Regions from separate parts of the Homo sapiens genome. Here all the other regions are linked to region 2. The links are contacts of gene promoters, found by promoter capture Hi-C in human tissues and cell types (Jung and others, 2019). All regions are on one chromosome and are shown on one strand. The core of a region is centred on a gene start or on the middle of the fragment in contact, and the rest is flanking DNA. Distances in the headings are between cores, read along the strand shown. Region 1 overlaps MRPS6 (mitochondrial ribosomal protein S6). Region 2 holds the start of DONSON (DNA replication fork stabilization factor DONSON). Region 3 overlaps IFNAR2-IL10RB (IFNAR2-IL10RB readthrough). Region 4 overlaps ITSN1 (intersectin 1). Region 5 holds the start of LOC105372787 (a long non-coding RNA gene). Region 6 has its middle 43 kb from the start of LINC00649.

Region 1 (2,700 bases), core at 7-2,506, 510 kb before region 2:
AGTATCCACTCACGGTGCTTCTATTAGATTTCCACATGGCAAAAAAACCAATGCACATGACCAGGATAAAATACAGGGCCACTATGGCAATGTCTGCTGTGTCCAGTACAGCTCTCATTCTGGTAACTTGTGAATAATAGCGCTCCAATGACAGAAGTGTCCAACTTTTTATTTATTTTTAGTAACCCCAGCCAAGTCTGTAAACCATACGTGAACTGGACTACACAGAGCAACACAGCAGGGTCAAAGTCTTTGTCCTTTGGTTTGCTGTCTTGATGGTGGTGGTTGTGATAAACTTTGAAGAAGACAGTTTAAATTTTCCGCTTCTTAATTGGGATTGAGAACTTAGCTCGTACTCTTAATCCACTCTCCACAAGACCATCAGCATTTACTCAGGTGCTGGAGGAGAAATTCTGAGTTGCAGCTAAGTCTAGTGAAGCCTACTGTACCAACCCTGCAAGGCAGCAGAGACAAAAGACAAAGATTGAAGTAGAGGAGGTCTCGCCACGTGATGAGGAAACTTTCAGTCTAGCAAACCCGGCGCAACGAGACATTCTTTATTGGAAGAAAAAAAATTTTTTTAATACACTTCAGTTCCACAGGAAAGAGCAATCTATATGATCACAGCTGATACTTTTGTCAGTGAGAATATTATCATTTTGAGCTGAGGACAGAAATTCATCTACCTCATAACTAAGTGGCCTAACTTCAGCAGCTAACTGCCTACCACAGCATTGCCCTTTCTTGTCTTACTGTGGTATGCTCAGATTAGGACAGGCACTAAGATCTTAAAGCACCCTAAAGGGGAGAAAACACTAATTATATTCGTAATAAGGGCACAAAAATGAAATCTTAAAATACTATGAATCCTAAGAGAGTTTGGGGGTAACTTTATGGCCAGTTAGGGTCCTGGATGGAACAGGCAGGTGGTGTTTACTAGATGTTATCATCTACCCTCAGAAAATTTAAATACAGAAAACCAAGTACTGCCTAGTCTCTGGAAATGTATTGTTATAAAGCTTCTTAAACTCCAGTAAATGGATATAGTTGTCATACAGTAACCTAGATCTTGTGAGACGCCCCCTGCCCTAATGGGAAACACGACATTCCACACAAAACTAAAAATATCCAACTTACAAAACAACTCAAAAATTGTATTATTTCTGCCAGTTAGAAGATGCTGCAAGAAGATAAAAAGCAAACTTTAAAAGAAGCAATTTCCTTCTCTTCCTTTTCATCAGGCAGTATTTCCAAAACAACCTCTGAGAGGATAACGGCACTGACTAAAGGCGTGATTTTATGTTTTCCTTTTAATGCTTTTTGTTGAAGGGTATAAGAAGCAGAGAAAAGAGGGAGGAGGAGAAAAGTTTTCAGAAGACTAAAAAATGATTTATTATTATGTCCGCCAAACCTCAACAAAACAGACATTTGTGGACCATTAGATAAATCTTCAGTAGGACCATCAGGAATTTTTCAGTTCTGGATTAAGATAATCACTCTGCAAAACAGACATTTAAATATACCTAAAATTAAATGTATTAAAATTTGACGGCTTCTCTCCTGAAAAAGAGACAAATACTAAATTTTCAGTTAATTGTAATTGCAGCTGACAGATCAATACGAACAACAATTTTATTCAACCTAATGCCTTCCACACATTAACTTCTAAATGATTTCTCCTTTTCCAATAAGGCAACCTCAGAGAAGAATGTTTTTCCATGCTTTTTCTGATGATTCTAGGCATTTTCCTTTTAAGTCCTATAAATTATACTAAAGCTACCTCTTCTCAAAACCGTTCAAAACAGACCACAGTATTAGAAACTTTACAACACACTTCTCACTGACAAAAGGAGCTAAACATAATGCCTAGAGACTACTGCCCTACAAAATTAGGTTCTTAGGTCTAATGCAGAAAAAACTGCCTGGATAGAAATGTCTCAATCCCATCTGCGTGCCTTTTTAAAGCATTAAGCAATACAATAATTATGCTATGAAAAGTGATTTAAATCCTTTCTAAGTGTCAACGGCTGGCATAAATAAGATTGATTGCCAGAGAAAAGCAAAAAAAAAAAAAAAAATCTTAAAAGTTGAGGTTTGTATCACTTCATACCTGCCAAATCCTGAAGATGATCATATTTCTATGACCACCTTCCCCACCCCCAAAAGCTTCCAAGTTTTTAAACAAATGCTTTGACATTATGTAGGACGAATCATCTAAATTTTTAATAAAATCTAATCAGATGACTAGTAAACATTATTTAAAAAGGTATCGTTAAATGTTTCTGCATAAGGGAAGCTTGTCAATTACAATGAAAACTGCTGTGTCAATTACAATGAAAACTGCTGTTCGCAGTTATGAAACCCTGCCTCCAGGGCTCTCTGCTACCCAACAGCCATCCAAGTCATCCTCAGGCCACTTGTTTCAATTTTCAGAAGGCTACCTGGCTAATCAGGTATCACTCTTCCCAATGGCAGTAGCAACCACGTGCTTTCCAAAGAAGGGAGAGAAAAACACAGTGGGTATTTCTGGTTTCATCTGGCCGTTGGGGGGGAAATAGGGTGGGTTATGTGTCATAGTAGCTGCTGCAGCTTATTTGTTCAGAGAACAAAGTGCTGAAAAAGAAAACAAGCACTTCCTCAATCACTGGGAAGCACTGTTACTATCAGTAACATTGTTCTTCATTGTCAAATCTGATTTAT
Region 2 (2,700 bases), core at 86-2,585:
ACTAATAGATTTGAGCACTAGCATTTGTCATATACCACCCTGTTTGTTCTACTTATCTTTAACTAGACCTGACATTTCTAATTTCATTCCTTCTCAGACCTCAGTTGGATGAACCCATTCCACTGTATGAGGCAAAAGTTTCCATGGAAGCTGTTCAGAAAAATCAAGGAAGAAAAAAGCAAGTTGTTCAATTTTAATTTTCTTCTTTCTCAGACCTCAGTCGGATGAACATATTCCAGTATTTGAAGCCAGAATTTTCTTTGGAAATTGTTGAGAAAAACCAAGGAAGATAAAACAAGTTGCATTTTTAAGCACGTTTCTCTGCTAAGACAAGATGCTCAGTTGACACATTTGAAAAGTGTTTGAAAAATTCTTGTGCAAATGATCAAGATAATTCTATAATTAACATCTTAAGGGAATTTTTCTAAAAACCTTTTCATTGTTTCTATATATTTTGCCCCTGCTATAAAATTCCTTCCATGAAGAAAACTGCTGCTTTCAGCAAAAGTCACACTACTCTTGATAAAAGCTGTTGCAGGCCTTTGCTAAGCTATCAAAGTAACGTATTAATTTTGTATCAACTCCGTTCTCAACACCTTCCTTAAGTCTTTGCTGTCATAATTTAAGCATTTGAGTATATTTTGAAGTCTTAAAAGACTTAGCCCATAGGCACTTAAATTTTGTGTTTTCAACTATTCATTCACTCCGGCTTTCCCCAGGATCAAAGAAGATCCCATTAACTTGCCAGTGGCAGCTGCCTGGAAGTCTGAGATGACCAGGCACTGGGAACGGGGAAGGGAGGGATGTCGGTAGGCTGCGCTGGCATAGGAAGCGTGCTGACGTCTTATCTGAGTTCTCTGGGGGTTGAGGAAGGTGGCCTAGTCCCCTCTCCTCGCCTCTTGAGAGCAGTAGCCACTGCCCTCTCTTAAGTTTATGGAAGCAGCAGCCCATCGCCGCAGCTCAAGTTTGTTTCCTTTTCATCCAGGCGCCAAACCCCGGGCTGATCACATCCCTGCTGCGGGCTTAAATAGAGTTAAGCTATTTCGGTGCCCCACAGGGTAGTGCACATCAGCGCCCTGGATCGCATACTTTCCAGAAGCGTCGCTGAACCTGGCGACTGGACTCTGGCCGAGGACCTGGCAGAAGCGCCAGGGCAGGGTCACCGCTGGGACAGTGGGCGTTGACGGCCACCCGGGATCGCCGCTGCGGGCTGCGTCTCGCGGGCTGCCCACTGCGCATGCTCCGCTCGGAACCGGCGGGGGCGGAGGCGGGGCCGCGTCGGGGGCGGGAGCTCGGCGAGGCGCCACGTCAGGGGCGGGCCCGGCGCGCGCGGGAAGTCTCTGTAGGGCGGCCGGCTACCCTCAGCCGCCGCGCGTCATGGCCCTTTCGGTGCCCGGCTACTCACCGGGCTTCCGAAAGCCGCCCGAGGTAGTGCGGCTCCGACGGAAAAGGGCCCGGAGCCGTGGAGCTGCCGCCTCCCCGCCCCGTGAGCTGACGGAGCCGGCGGCCCGCCGAGCCGCCCTGGTGGCGGGGCTGCCTCTTCGCCCTTTCCCTGCTGCGGGGGGCAGAGGCGGTGGCAGCGGCGGCGGCCCGGCCGCTGCTCGGAGGAACCCCTTCGCCCGCCTGGACAACCGACCGCGGGTCGCCGCGGAGCCCCCCGACGGGCCGGCCCGCGAGCAGCCGGAGGCCCCGGTCCCGGTGAGTGTCTTGTAGCCTGGCCGCCAAGGGGCTCTTGTCTTTCGTGGGTTGAGCCAGCTGTGAATGGGGGATGGAAAGTCCTCGCGTTCGAGGCAAGGAAATGGGCGCGAAGACTTCGGCCGCCCGTGGCCTTAGGGTACCCCGCCCTGGGAGCCGCGATTCTGGCAAGGCCGGGTTTGTGGGAAGAGCGCTCCCCTGGCTACCCCGCTGCGGGCTGTGCTCACGGGACGCGTTCCCGAGGAAAGTGAGGGGGCCCCAGAGGGCAGCGAGGAGCCCCTTGGAGAGGACTTAGAGGTGACTTGGAAAAGAGCTCGAAAAACCCTGAGAGCCCCCATCTTGCAAGGACGCTGTTCGATGGGGCAGGTGACAAGCCCTGCTTCCCCCGTGATTTAGGGCCTCCCTTCTCTCACGCACTCCAAATTATTCTGGAGATGGGGGAATGTCGAGGATTCGTGGGGTCAGAATTCACTAGCATCTGTCTTACCCAAAGCCTTTTGGATCTTTCGGTTTGAAACGCCGGTCCCTGTTCCCCTCAATTTTGATACTAAAGTTCAGACACAAAACTGAAGTGTTGAAACTCATAGATTGGATGGGGTGCCTCTGAATTTAGGTGTACTTGCGTTTATTGAGAAACATGTATGCCAGGTGAGGCTCTGTACATATTTAACGCAAACTTCAGCATCCTTTAAATTTTAAAGGAGAATATATTTAACCTCAGTTTTTAGATTCTAATCAAGAAAATGATTTGCTATGGGAAGAGAAGTTTCCTGAAAGAACAACTGTTACTGAATTACCTCAGGTAATACTTTTTAAATATCATTAGAATGTGTATTTGTATAAACTTTTTTTTCATAGGATTTGAGCCTATTTTTAAAAATACATTTATACTTCTCAGAAGCATTTTGCTTGGAAAGTAGTTTTACAGAGAGGCTTGATCATCTCAACCAGGGATGAAAATACCGCATCAGCCAAGGTAAAGGAGTTGGTTTGATACAGTAATGA
Region 3 (2,700 bases), core at 87-2,586, 330 kb after region 2:
GTCATAAAACAATATAAATATATTATATTAATAGTTCTGGAGATCAGAAATCCAAAATGGGTTTCACTGGGATAAAAAATATCAAGATGTTGGCAGGACTGAACTCCTTATGGAGGCTCTAGGGGAAAACCCATTTCTTTGCCTTTCCCAGCTTCTAGAGGCCACTTGCATTCCTTTGCTCATGGCCCCCTCCTTCATCCTCACTCTGCGACCTCTGCTGCTGCTGTGAGAGCTCCTTCTCTGCCTCTGAGTCTCCTGCTTCTCTTTTTGTTGAGACACAGTCTTGCTCTGTAGCTCAGGCTGGAGTACAGTGGTACCATCTTGGCTCACTGCAACCCCCACCTCCCGGGTTCAAGAGATTCTCCTGCCTCAGCCTCCCAAGTAGCTGGGACTCCAGACGCATGCCACCACGCCTGGCTAATTTTTGTATTTTTAGTAGAGATGGGGTTTTACCACGTTGGCTAGGCTGAACTCGAACTCCTGACCTCAGGTGATTCACCTGGCTCGGCCCCCCAAAGTGCTGGAATTACAGGCATGAGCCACTGCGCCTGGCCAAGATCTTCAATTTCATCACACCCACAAGCCCCTTTGGCATAGAGGTTAGCCTGTTCACATATCTGGGATTAGGATGTAGACATCTTTGGGGGCCATTATTCTGCTTACCACATCTCCCTTGGGTCTTTATTCAAATGCTACCTTCTCAGGAAGGCCATCTGTGGCCATCTGTGGTGGATGCTGTGGGTGGCCTGCCCATGTCCCCTTTTCCAGTCAGTGCACACCCACTACTGCTGCCGCACGTGTCTGCTGATATCTCTCAGAGCTGATCCTTCTCTAAGTGAAAGGTGAGGCCAGCTGGACTTCCTGGGTGGAGTGAGGACTTAGGGAACTTTCTTGTCTTACAAGAGGATTGTAAAACGCACCAATCAGGGACTTTCCTGTCTCACAAGAGGATTGTAAAATGCACAAGTCAGCATTCTGTAAAACGCACCAATCAGCACTCTAAAACGCACCAATCAGCGCTCTGTAAAATGCACCAATCAGCAGGATCCTAAAAGTAGCCAATCACGAGGAGGACTGAAAAAAGGGCACTCTGATAGGACAGAAACGAACACGGGAAGGGACAATAAGGGAATAAAAGCTGGCCACCTCCAGCCAGCAGTGGCAACCCGCTCAGGTCCCCTTCCAGGGTGTGAAAGCTTTGTCCTTTCGCTCTTCACAATAAACCATGCTACTGCTCACTCTTTGGGTCTGTGCCATCTTTAAGAGCTGTTAACGCTCACCAGGAAGGTCTGCGGCTCCATTCTTGAAGTCAGCGAGACCACGAACCCATTGGCAGGAACCAACTCCGGACACATAAGGAACTGCCCTTGCCCAAAAGGGGGCTGCCTCATCTGGAGGCCATGCCATAGATCACCACCAGTAACTGACTGGCTGCTGACTTGAGGATACAGTTCACGCTTCCGAGAACCCCTTGGGATCAGGCTCAGCTGAGAGCCACATGCCTGCTTAATTTCTCTCTCCCTGTACCTACCTGTTCCCTCTTTCCCCTTCTCCTAAGATGCCCCCACCAATAAATCACACTTGAATATGAATTCACATCCCAGGCTCTGCTTCTAGCAAATGCAAATCAAGACACTATCCTATTAAAAACAGCAACCTGCTCTCCTCAACCTGACATCCCCCTCACCTCCTTTCCCGCATAATTTTTTTCCATGGTACTTACTTAACATACTGTCTATTTTACATGTTGATCTTGTTATTCTGTCTCCTACTGCAATGTAAGCTCCACAAGGTGAGAAGTTTTTAATCTGTTTTGTTCACTGCTAAATCCTCAATATCCAGAAAAGAATCTGGCTCATAACAGGCCCCCAATAAACATTTGTCAAATGAATGAATAGAGCTTTTCCTTAGGGCCTTAATATTAATAAAAGAGACAAACCATTAGTTTTAAGGCTTGACAAGGGGAAGGTGTTTCTCCAGATGTCTGGGCTAAAATCCCCCCATATCAGTCTGCCCTAGGATTGGGTCACAGTGCTTACTGCTGAGCCTATGTTAATGCTGGTCTCAGGCTATCCTTCCAAGACCCCTCACCATCCAAACCTGTCTGGTTTCTGAGTTTGGCTGGTTGAGGGCACGTCAGATGGCAAGCAGATAGTGACAGAGGCCACGTTATCTGAACCTATTTGCTTCCTGAGTTTCAAACAAGAATTTGACATCAGGTACAGTATTTGGATAATTAAAGAGAGCGGTACTTGACCTATCTCGGGTAATAATCAAAGAATGAGGGCTGACTTGATGTGCAACATGACGCATTCACGCCAAGTAAAAATGGAATGACCTGAGAGGATGTTGTTACATGAACATCTTAGTAGGTGAAATGGAAAAGAGTCAGGGGAGAAAGTGAGTCATCACAGAATTCATCAACCTCCAAGGAGCTTGTGCCTTCTCATCAGCAACACATTCACCTTGGAACTGGGGACTGAGTTTCAATAAACCACCATCTGTCTGCCAGGTCACTAATTTCAGTTTTTATTGTCTATAAGAGTTTCGTTTGTATGTAAGATCAATGATATAATAAAATATACATATATATCCAGTCTTTGTCCCTAGTTCCTGGAGCAGAGCTTCAAAAACCTGTGGAATTTCCTGAACGTTAGGAGTGTCTTTTGTTAACAAGCCTCTTTTAGGGGCCACATATGA
Region 4 (2,700 bases), core at 83-2,582, 260 kb before region 2:
ATGTCTGTAATCCCAGTACTTTGGAAGGCAGAGGTGGGTGGATTGCCTGAGCCCAGGAGTTCATGACCAGCCTGGGCAACATAGTGAGAGACACCCATATCTACAAAAAATTTAAAAAATTATCCATGCATGGTGGTACATGCCTGTAATCCCAGCTACTTGGGAGGCTGAGGCAGGAGGATTACCTGAGCCCAGGAAATAGAGGCTGCAGTGAGCTATGATCGCACCACTGCACTCCAGCCTGGGCAACAGAGCGAGCACCTGTCTCAGGAAAAAAAAAAAAAAAAAAAAGGAAAGAAAAGAAAAGAAAAGAAAAAAAACGAGAAAAAAAAAAAAGAAATTAAAATAGCAAGCATTAAAAAAAGAGCCCAGGCCGGGTGCAGTGGCTCACACCTGTAATCCCAGCACTTTGGGAGGCTGAGGCAGGTGGATCACTTGAGGTCAGGAGTTCAAGACCAGCCTGGCCAACATGGTGAAACCTCATCTCTACTAAAAATACAAAAATTAGCTGGGCATGGTGACAGGCACCTGTAATCCCAGCTACTCGGGAGGCTGAGGCAGGAGAATCGCTTGAACCCAGGAGGTGGAGGTTGCAGTGAGCTGAGGTCGCACCACTGCACTCCAGCCTGGGTGACAGAGCGAGACTCTGTCTCAAAAAAAAAAGAAAAAAAAGAAAAGAAAAAAGAGCCCGTGTGCTGTGCTGATGGTGGAGACAGTAGGACCTCAGAAGGGAGCAACTCCTCGTGCTAAGGGGAGGCTTCCTCGAGGGGCCCTCCTGAGGCTGGGTCTCCATATGGCTGGGGAGGTCAAGACCATACACTGGGGGCTATGGGCACCAGCAAGAGCAAGCCTTCACCCAGGTGCCAGGTCGACGCGGAGACACTGCAAGAGATAAGGTGGAAAGGTGGGAAGGGCCAGATGACAGGGTGACGGGGATTGTGATGCCAGAACAAATGTTCAGAAACAACATGTGGAAGGACCAGGAGAGAGAGCAATAAGCAAGCCCGGGCGATGGCTTTCATCTTTAAGGGAAAGGATCTACCTTTCCCTTTTGTCTCTGGGGACATTCAGCCCAAATCCTCTGGCTCAATGGCCCCGGATCAGCAGGGTCTATGCTACTTGGGCTCCTGGAGGTCCCATCTATACTGCAGGCTTCTCCCCATGGACCAAGTCTCTCCTGCCAGGTGAGCCCATGCACCCCAGAGCTGCACTGGCTTCTCCTGGGCAAATTAATCTAACTGCACTCCCTTCAACACCCTGGGCCTCTCCTGGTAGGTGTGGGGTGGCCTGTCGTGTAGGAAAAGCAGATGAAGCCACATGGATATGACGTGAAGAAAGTTCTCTGGCCAAACACTATGTCCCTTTACCCTGCAGCTGATGTCTGAAACCCCAGCGTTCTCCAAGCCATGAAGTTGTGTACTCCTGCTGTGAAGCAGCATCCACGCTCGGCCCCGGGGTTCAGTGAGAAGGAGGCAGTCCGGGTCCTTGTCCTTTGGGAGCCTGCTGGTTGCTAGACCTGGGAGTCCCAGGCCAACTTGGATCCTTGCTGAGTTGCAGGCACTTTGCACAGGGCATCACTCCAAGCGGTTATCAGTCCTTGAGACCTCGGAGTTGCAAATCCTCAAGATGCGATTTTTAATGGGGTCTGGAGAAGCCGGTGGGCACAGAGGTGAGAGGGGAAGGAATGCCCCCAAAGGCACCAGAGACCCTCGTGGGTCCAGCAGAGCTCAGGTATCCCACCCAGCCTGTCCTGGTGACACATCTTGCCCCATGTAGCTGGGTCCTCGGGAGGCTTCCATTCAGATGTAACCCAGATGCTTAAAAGTGCCAATGTAACTCCAAATAAGCTTTGTTTTCTCCCAAGGAGGGGAATCCAGTCCACAGGGGTTGCCAGGCAGTTTAATTACTGCTGAGAAGTGGTGAAGATCAAATTCTTCTCAGGGATAAATCATCTCTTAATTTTCCATAAATATGCACATTTCAGAGAGTGAAAGGGTGTATCATTCATAGCTTCATAATGGGCACTGGAATTCCTGGCACAGCTTTACATCCTCTGTGGTAGGTATGCTTCAGCTCATTCCAGGCCCCTTCTATGTCCCACCCCTGACTTCCTGCTCTCACTGTGCCCTCTCCTGTAGTATGAGTAGCTCCTGTTAATAAGTTTTTTGGGTACAAAGGCAGACTGGCATGTTATAATGAAAGTACAAATGCATTTTTATTGGAATATGAAGGAGGAGCCTGTTGGTTTTTGTTTTATTTTTAAGTTTTGTGGGTACATTGTAGGTGTATATATTTATGGCGCACCTGAGCTATTTTGGTACAGGGATGCAATGTGTAATAATCACATCATAAGAATGGGGTATCCGTCCCCTCAAGCATTTATCCTTTGTGTTACAAACAATCCAATTACACTGTTTTAGTTATTTTTAAATGTACAATTAAATTACTATTGTAGTTGCTCTGTTGTGGTATCAAATACTAGGTCTTTTTTTTTTTTTTTTTTTGAGACAGAGTCTTGCTCTGTTGCCCAGGCTAGAGTGCAATGGTGCAATCTTGGCTCACTGCAGTTTCCACCTCCCAGGATCAAGCAATTCTCGTGCCTCAGCCTCCCGAGTAGCTGGGATTACAGGCATGCGCCACCACGCCCAGCTAATATTTCTATTTTTAATAGAGACAGGGTTTCACCATGTTGGCCAGGCT
Region 5 (2,700 bases), core at 34-2,533, 390 kb after region 2:
AACTCTATGGCAGCTATTTGTAACCCCTACCCTAGTTCATAGAAAGAGAAGCATATTAGACAGTGGGCATGGCAAGTACCTCTCCGCAGGTGTGTACGGAATCAGAATTCAACTTTTAGAAGATTTCTGCTCTGAAAACAAATTATTTTTTAAAGTAAGCTTTTACTTATTTTGGGGGGTATGGTGAGTACTTGGGAACGTGAGAGAGTGTTTCCTACTTTTCTCATGGTGAGAGTTGACAAGATGTGAGGTTTGGAGCCTGTGTTGTAGAATTCAAGGTCATCAAAAAAGGCAGGTCTTGTGGCTCTGCTTGAGGCATGAGTTAAAACTTTTCTTATCATCCTGATCAAATACAGTTGTAGGAGTTGTCGCAGGGAGATTAGCACCCTTTCTCCAGTTCATCTTGGACAGGTGGTTTTTATTATTCTTGTATTTGGTTTTTATCCTCTTTCTTTCAGAGCTAAGGGAGACTCATCAGAATGGATGGTTTCTGAAATAGGAATCTATTCAAGATTTAGGAATATAGAATTTTTATTTTTTAAAACACATTACATTTCATTACACTGTCCAATGATATAACAGAACCACAGACTTTTCTGGTTGTGTCCTGCTCTTTATTTTTACCTGGATCCAAGCTTTCTTCAATGATTCTCTCTCTCTCTCTTTTTCTTTTTCTTTCTTTTTTTTTTTTTCTTTTTTGAGTTGGAGTCTTGCTCTGTCACCCAGGCTGGAGTACAGTGGTGTGATCTTGGCTCACTGCAACCTCCGCCTCCTGGGTTCAAGTGATTCTCGTGCCTCAGCCTCCTGAGTAGCTAGGATTACAGGTGTATGCTACAATGCCTGATAAACTTTTGTATTTTTTGGTAGAGACTGGATTTCACCATGTTGCCCAGGCTGGTCTCAAACTTCTGGCTTCAAACTATCTGCCTGCCTCAGCCTCCCAAAGTGCTGGGATTACAGGCGTGAGCACCGTGCCCTGCCTCTCTTCAAGGACTCTCTTTGCTACATCGGCATCACCTGGGAACGTGGTAGGGCTACAGAATCTTGGGCCCCACCTTGGACCTACCTAATCGTCATCTTATTCATTGGTGTTCCCTTCGCCAGGTGAGTTTTGCACTGACTAAAACACACAGATCTATCAGGTGAGTCGAAATGGCAATACTCATTTACCTTAGTTCTGCCTTTATTTTACTTTCAGTGTTTTATCCTTGTCCATGGAGTCACTCTCATTCATGCAGTTCCACAAATATTTTTTAAGGCCCACTCTGTGGCAGACATAATACAAAGGGCTGAGAATAAAGATGAAAAAAATCATTTACTCAAAGTATGTAGTATGTCATCCAATGATAAGTTATGGAGGAAAAGGCAGGCTAAGGGGGCCGGGAGTGTGGGAAAAGGGTGCAGTGGTATACAGAGTGATCAGCGAAGCCTTCTCCCAGGAAGGGGCCTCTGAGCAGAGAAGGGGAGGACAGAAGGAAAAGTCACGTGGAGGGCTCAGGGAACTACCTCCTCTGCCCTCCAAAGCCACTAGCGAATCGCTGTGTGCGAGGGTTGCCACATTTAGCAAAAATACAAGATACCTAGTTGCATTTGAATTTCAGATCAACCTTGAATATGTGTTGGGTATAACATACTAACTTTTTTTCTTTTTCTTTTTCCTTTTTTTTTTTGTTTTGAGACAGAATCTCACTCTGTTGCCCAGGCTGGAGTGCCGTGGTGCGATCTCGGCTCACTGCATCCTCCGCCTCCCTGGTTCAAGAGATTCTCTTGCCTCAGCCTCCTGAGTAGCTGGGATTACAGGCACCTGCCACCATACCCAGCTAATTTTTGTATTTTTAGTAGAGACAGGGTTTCGCCATGTTGGCCAGGCTGGTCTTGAACTCCTGACCTCAGGTGATCCGGCCGCCTCGGCCTCCCAAAATGCTGGGATTACAGGCGTGAGCACCGTGCCTGGCCTAACTTTTAATATTAAAATACACATATATAAAATTTAGTACATATACTAGTACATAGTACATGTACTAAATTATATTGTAATGTTTTTAGTATGTCCCATACAATATTTACGACATATTTATTTATACTAAACAAATTCATTGTTTATCAGAAATTAAAATTTAACTGGGCATCCCATATCTGTGTGACCCTCTGTGTGACCGATGGCTTGTGGACCAGACCATGAGCTTGGGGAATGTCCTTCTCAGCAGGACCACCATTTCCCTTCTCAGTCAACCCTCACCTTGTTCCCTAGGCTCTGGGCAGGGTCACCTTGAAGGCGGCCATCTGTGGCCTTGTGTTAACTCCACAGGTGACACCTGGATTCTGTAGTCAGATAAGAATGTGCGCCTGTCTTCTATAGCCAGCTAAGCATTTCCTAAACTAAACACTCCTAAAAAGTCTTCTCTAGTGAACAAAACACATCTTAGAATCCTCCAGGAATATACTCCATTGTGAATGGATCACAGTGGGGAAAAAAAGTGAATTGTTCCTTTGTCCATCTAATGTTTGGGAGAAACTCATGATTTATTTTGCAGCCAAACGCACACGCAATCCAGTTTGCAGTTTTCCAAAGGCTATTTCTGATGTGGGATGTGTGGCTCCTCCCACCTCTTCCTGGTATAATCTATAGCGTAACATCTGTGTGTCTATGCTAAGAGTCAAGCCATTAACCTCTGAATTTATTTATTTATTCGAGATGGA
Region 6 (2,700 bases), core at 2-2,501, 390 kb before region 2:
GGGTGGATTACCTGAGTTCAGGAGTTCAAGACCAGCCTGGCCCACATGGTGAAACCCCATCTCTACTACAATTACAAAAATTAGCTGGGTGTGGTGGCGGGCACCTGTAATCCCAGCTACTAGGGAGGCTGAGGCAGGTGAATCGCTTGAACCAGGGAGGTGGAGGTTGCAGTAAGCCAAGATCACACCGTTGCACTCCAGCCTGGGCAACAAGAGCGAAACTCCATCTCAAAAAAAAAAAAGAAAGAAAGAAAATATTTTAATATATAATGATGGAAGAAGGAAGGAGGGCGGGAGGAAGGGAAAAAAGAAGGAAAGAGGGAGGAAGGGAGGATGGGAGAAAAGGAGGAAGACAAGGGAGAAAGGGAGGAAGAGAAGGGAGGAAGGGAGGGAGGAAGGAAAGGAAGAAGGGGGATGGGGTGGGAGGAAGGGAGGGAGGGAACGGAAACTTTTAAAGCAGCCTTAGGAAGAAAGAGATCACCTTTAGAGAAGCCATAAATAAACAGTCAACTGACTTTTTTTTAAAGCCACAATGGAATCCAAAAGAAAAGCCTAGATCCTCTACCCATGGAAAATATCCCTCAAGAGGGAAGATGAAATATAGACATTTGCGACAACAAGAAAAACCTACAAATAAAACTCCAAGAGCATTCACCACTAGCAGATCATCATCTTTTAAAAGGAAAAGGAGTGTGGCACCCACAGCTGTGTGGAATGCTGGAGCTGACAATTTGCTTGGAGCTTCCAACAGGGAAATCGCTGCTTGATGACTGGTGTAGACCCATGATCTAGCTACTCTATTCAAAGAAATAGTCGGCAACTTTGCAAATTCTAACCAGGAACTGGAAACTATAGGAAGTGTCACATAGTTGATATAAAAAATGAACTCAATGATCATGGACATCAGTGTGAACCAGATGGACCCCACACATGTCTTGGCACCTCAGAGGCCCCTGGAATGTGTGTGTGTATATATGTGTGTGTGTGTGTGTGTGTGTGTGTGTGTGTGTGTGTGTGTGTGTGTGTGTATATGCCTCCAGGAAAAACATTGGACCCCTAAAATGACATGGGAAAACAGGGGCTCGAAGCAGGAGGTAAATTCAGCTAGAGGATAATAAAGTTATGCTTCTTGTGGTGCACAGACTACTGAAGGCAGGCTTTGCAGAGAGCTTGGAAACCTCCAGAGTTGCATCTTAGCCACCCTTTTGAGTTACTAGGGGAGTCAAAGAACATAAGCCCTCTTAAAGCACCTGAAAGGCAAGGAAAGCCATACAGATTTGAGGCAATGATCATACTTGAAATCACTCCCTTAAAGTGACTGAAAGAGTATCAGTTGGGCTCAAGCAATTAAACAATTGTCAAATGCATCAAGCATCTGTGATATGAATTCACAGGCACATCTGAGGAAGAGCCCAACAGTAATTCCTCATCTTGTGGCTGGACCTTGGGAGGACCCTTGGAATTCCCTGGGAGAGCTCTTATCTAGGACTGGCCCCCTCTCCTGCCAGGAGCCACCTTCAGAGACTGAGGGACTGTGAGTTCCTTCTCCCTAGCTCCTCCCTCGTAATTCCCAACATCTCTGACCACTGGCAGCTCTCCCCAGAGGCTGGAGGGCTACTGATGATTCCACGGAAGTGACTGCATGCACCGATCCTAACCCCCGATAACTCTAAGGATGCTAGGTAGGAATCTCCTTCCCAGGATCATAAAACTTGGTGGAGAGGAGGGGTTTGAAAAAGATTAATAACCTGCTAAGGACGTGACCAGACTGCCTTATTGAAAACAAGGGACTTGTGTGTGTCTTCTCTTCCCATTAACATCCCAACTGCCTGGTGAACAACCAGCTCGAGGAAAAGAAAAAGGAGATTTGCTGCTGTTGCTAGGACTAGGGCCCCAAATACATTAAGGCCCTTGATGGGGGAGTTAAGCCTGCCACCGTCCAGCGTTATGGGGTAAGCAAGCACTATCAGGTCTCTAAGTGGTAAACATAATTTTCCCACATGGGAGACACTAATCCACATCATGCTGAAAGCAAAGTTATAAAGTGCGGCTGTCCCACCCCACCCACCCCACCCCATCTCGGTCATGAGCATCCAGGTGCCTTTTCTTTTTAGAGACAGGGTGTCATTCTGTCACCCAGGCTGGAGTACAGTAGTGTGATCATAGCTCACTGCAGCCTCGAACTTCTGACTCAAGCCATCCTCCCACCTGCCTCCTGAGTAGCTGGAACCACAGGCACATCCCATCATGCTTGGCTCAGTTGCGTTTATGAAGCTTCTTCCACTCGGCTCTGAGCCTTGCTCCTGGAGTCATCCTTCGGCCAGGGCTGCTGGCACCTGAAGCCACTCTGGCCCCTGAACATCCCCCAGCCACACTAGTCCTGGCTCTCTTCTTCACGATGTCCATCAGGCAGAGACCAGCCAATGGGAGGTCAGACCCACCCTCCTCTGAACTCAGTGACATGTATGGGCTTTCATTATGTGCCTCTTCACAAATTTTATCTTTTTTCATTTTTGTGTCCCTTAGGATAGGAATTCCTAGCTCTACTTAATAGATGAGTGTGGGGCCGGGCATGGTGGCTCACGTCTGTAATCTCAGCACTTTGGGAGGCCAAGGTGGGGGAATCACCTGAGGTCAGGAGTTCAAGACCAGCCAGGCCAACATAGTGAAACCCCATCTCTACTAAAAGTACAAAAAGTA

The links. Contacts are between HindIII fragments. The study calls those that stand out against the background at their distance.
Region 1: a contact is called between a fragment that was not itself captured here and the fragment with the promoter of DONSON in region 2, in 1 of the 25 tissues and cell types used here (lymphoblastoid cells).
Region 3: a fragment that was not itself captured here is called in contact with the fragment with the promoter of DONSON in region 2 in 1 of the 25 tissues and cell types used here (lymphoblastoid cells).
Region 4: a contact is called between a fragment that was not itself captured here and the fragment with the promoter of DONSON in region 2, in 1 of the 25 tissues and cell types used here (mesendoderm cells).
Region 5: a contact is called between a fragment that was not itself captured here and the fragment with the promoter of DONSON in region 2, in 3 of the 25 tissues and cell types used here (hippocampus, lymphoblastoid cells and stomach).
Region 6: a contact is called between a fragment that was not itself captured here and the fragment with the promoter of DONSON in region 2, in 1 of the 25 tissues and cell types used here (IMR-90 fibroblasts).

The regions. Positions count from the first base shown.
Region 1 is chr21:34,092,617-34,095,316 of GRCh38, reverse strand. All of the region lies in intron 1 of MRPS6 (mitochondrial ribosomal protein S6), which reads right to left. SLC5A3 (solute carrier family 5 member 3) reads right to left here. Exons shown (of 2, transcript NM_006933.7): 2 at 1-454. The coding sequence starts at 118. Among named protein-coding and RNA genes, the nearest start is that of SLC5A3, 20 kb to the right of the region's middle. The HindIII fragment of the contact is 6,027 bases long and covers 1-2,700 here.
Region 2 is chr21:33,587,319-33,590,018 of GRCh38, reverse strand. DONSON (DNA replication fork stabilization factor DONSON) reads left to right here and starts at 1,335. Exons shown (of 10, transcript NM_017613.4): 1 at 1,335-1,698; 2 at 2,417-2,497. The coding sequence starts at 1,378. CRYZL1 (crystallin zeta like 1) reads left to right here. Exons shown (of 13, transcript NM_145858.3): 13 at 98-678. The coding sequence ends at 197. RefSeq lists an enhancer at 1,147-1,646 and a silencer at 1,105-1,794. The HindIII fragment of the contact is 19,336 bases long and covers 1-2,700 here.
Region 3 is chr21:33,255,877-33,258,576 of GRCh38, reverse strand. All of the region lies in intron 7 of IFNAR2-IL10RB (IFNAR2-IL10RB readthrough), which reads right to left. The region is part of intron 7 of IFNAR2 (interferon alpha and beta receptor subunit 2); the gene reads right to left. Among named protein-coding and RNA genes, the nearest start is that of IL10RB-DT, 9.0 kb to the left of the region's middle. The HindIII fragment of the contact is 5,563 bases long and covers 1-2,700 here.
Region 4 is chr21:33,849,370-33,852,069 of GRCh38, reverse strand. All of the region lies in intron 29 of ITSN1 (intersectin 1), which reads right to left. Among named protein-coding and RNA genes, the nearest start is that of ATP5PO, 65 kb to the left of the region's middle. The HindIII fragment of the contact is 3,852 bases long and covers 1-2,700 here.
Region 5 is chr21:33,193,715-33,196,414 of GRCh38, reverse strand. LOC105372787 (a long non-coding RNA gene) reads left to right here and starts at 898. Exons shown (of 3, transcript XR_937675.3): 1 at 898-1,104. The HindIII fragment of the contact is 3,695 bases long and covers 1-2,700 here.
Region 6 is chr21:33,972,378-33,975,077 of GRCh38, reverse strand. No RefSeq gene overlaps it. Among named protein-coding and RNA genes, the nearest start is that of LINC00649, 43 kb to the right of the region's middle. The HindIII fragment of the contact is 7,091 bases long and covers 1-2,700 here.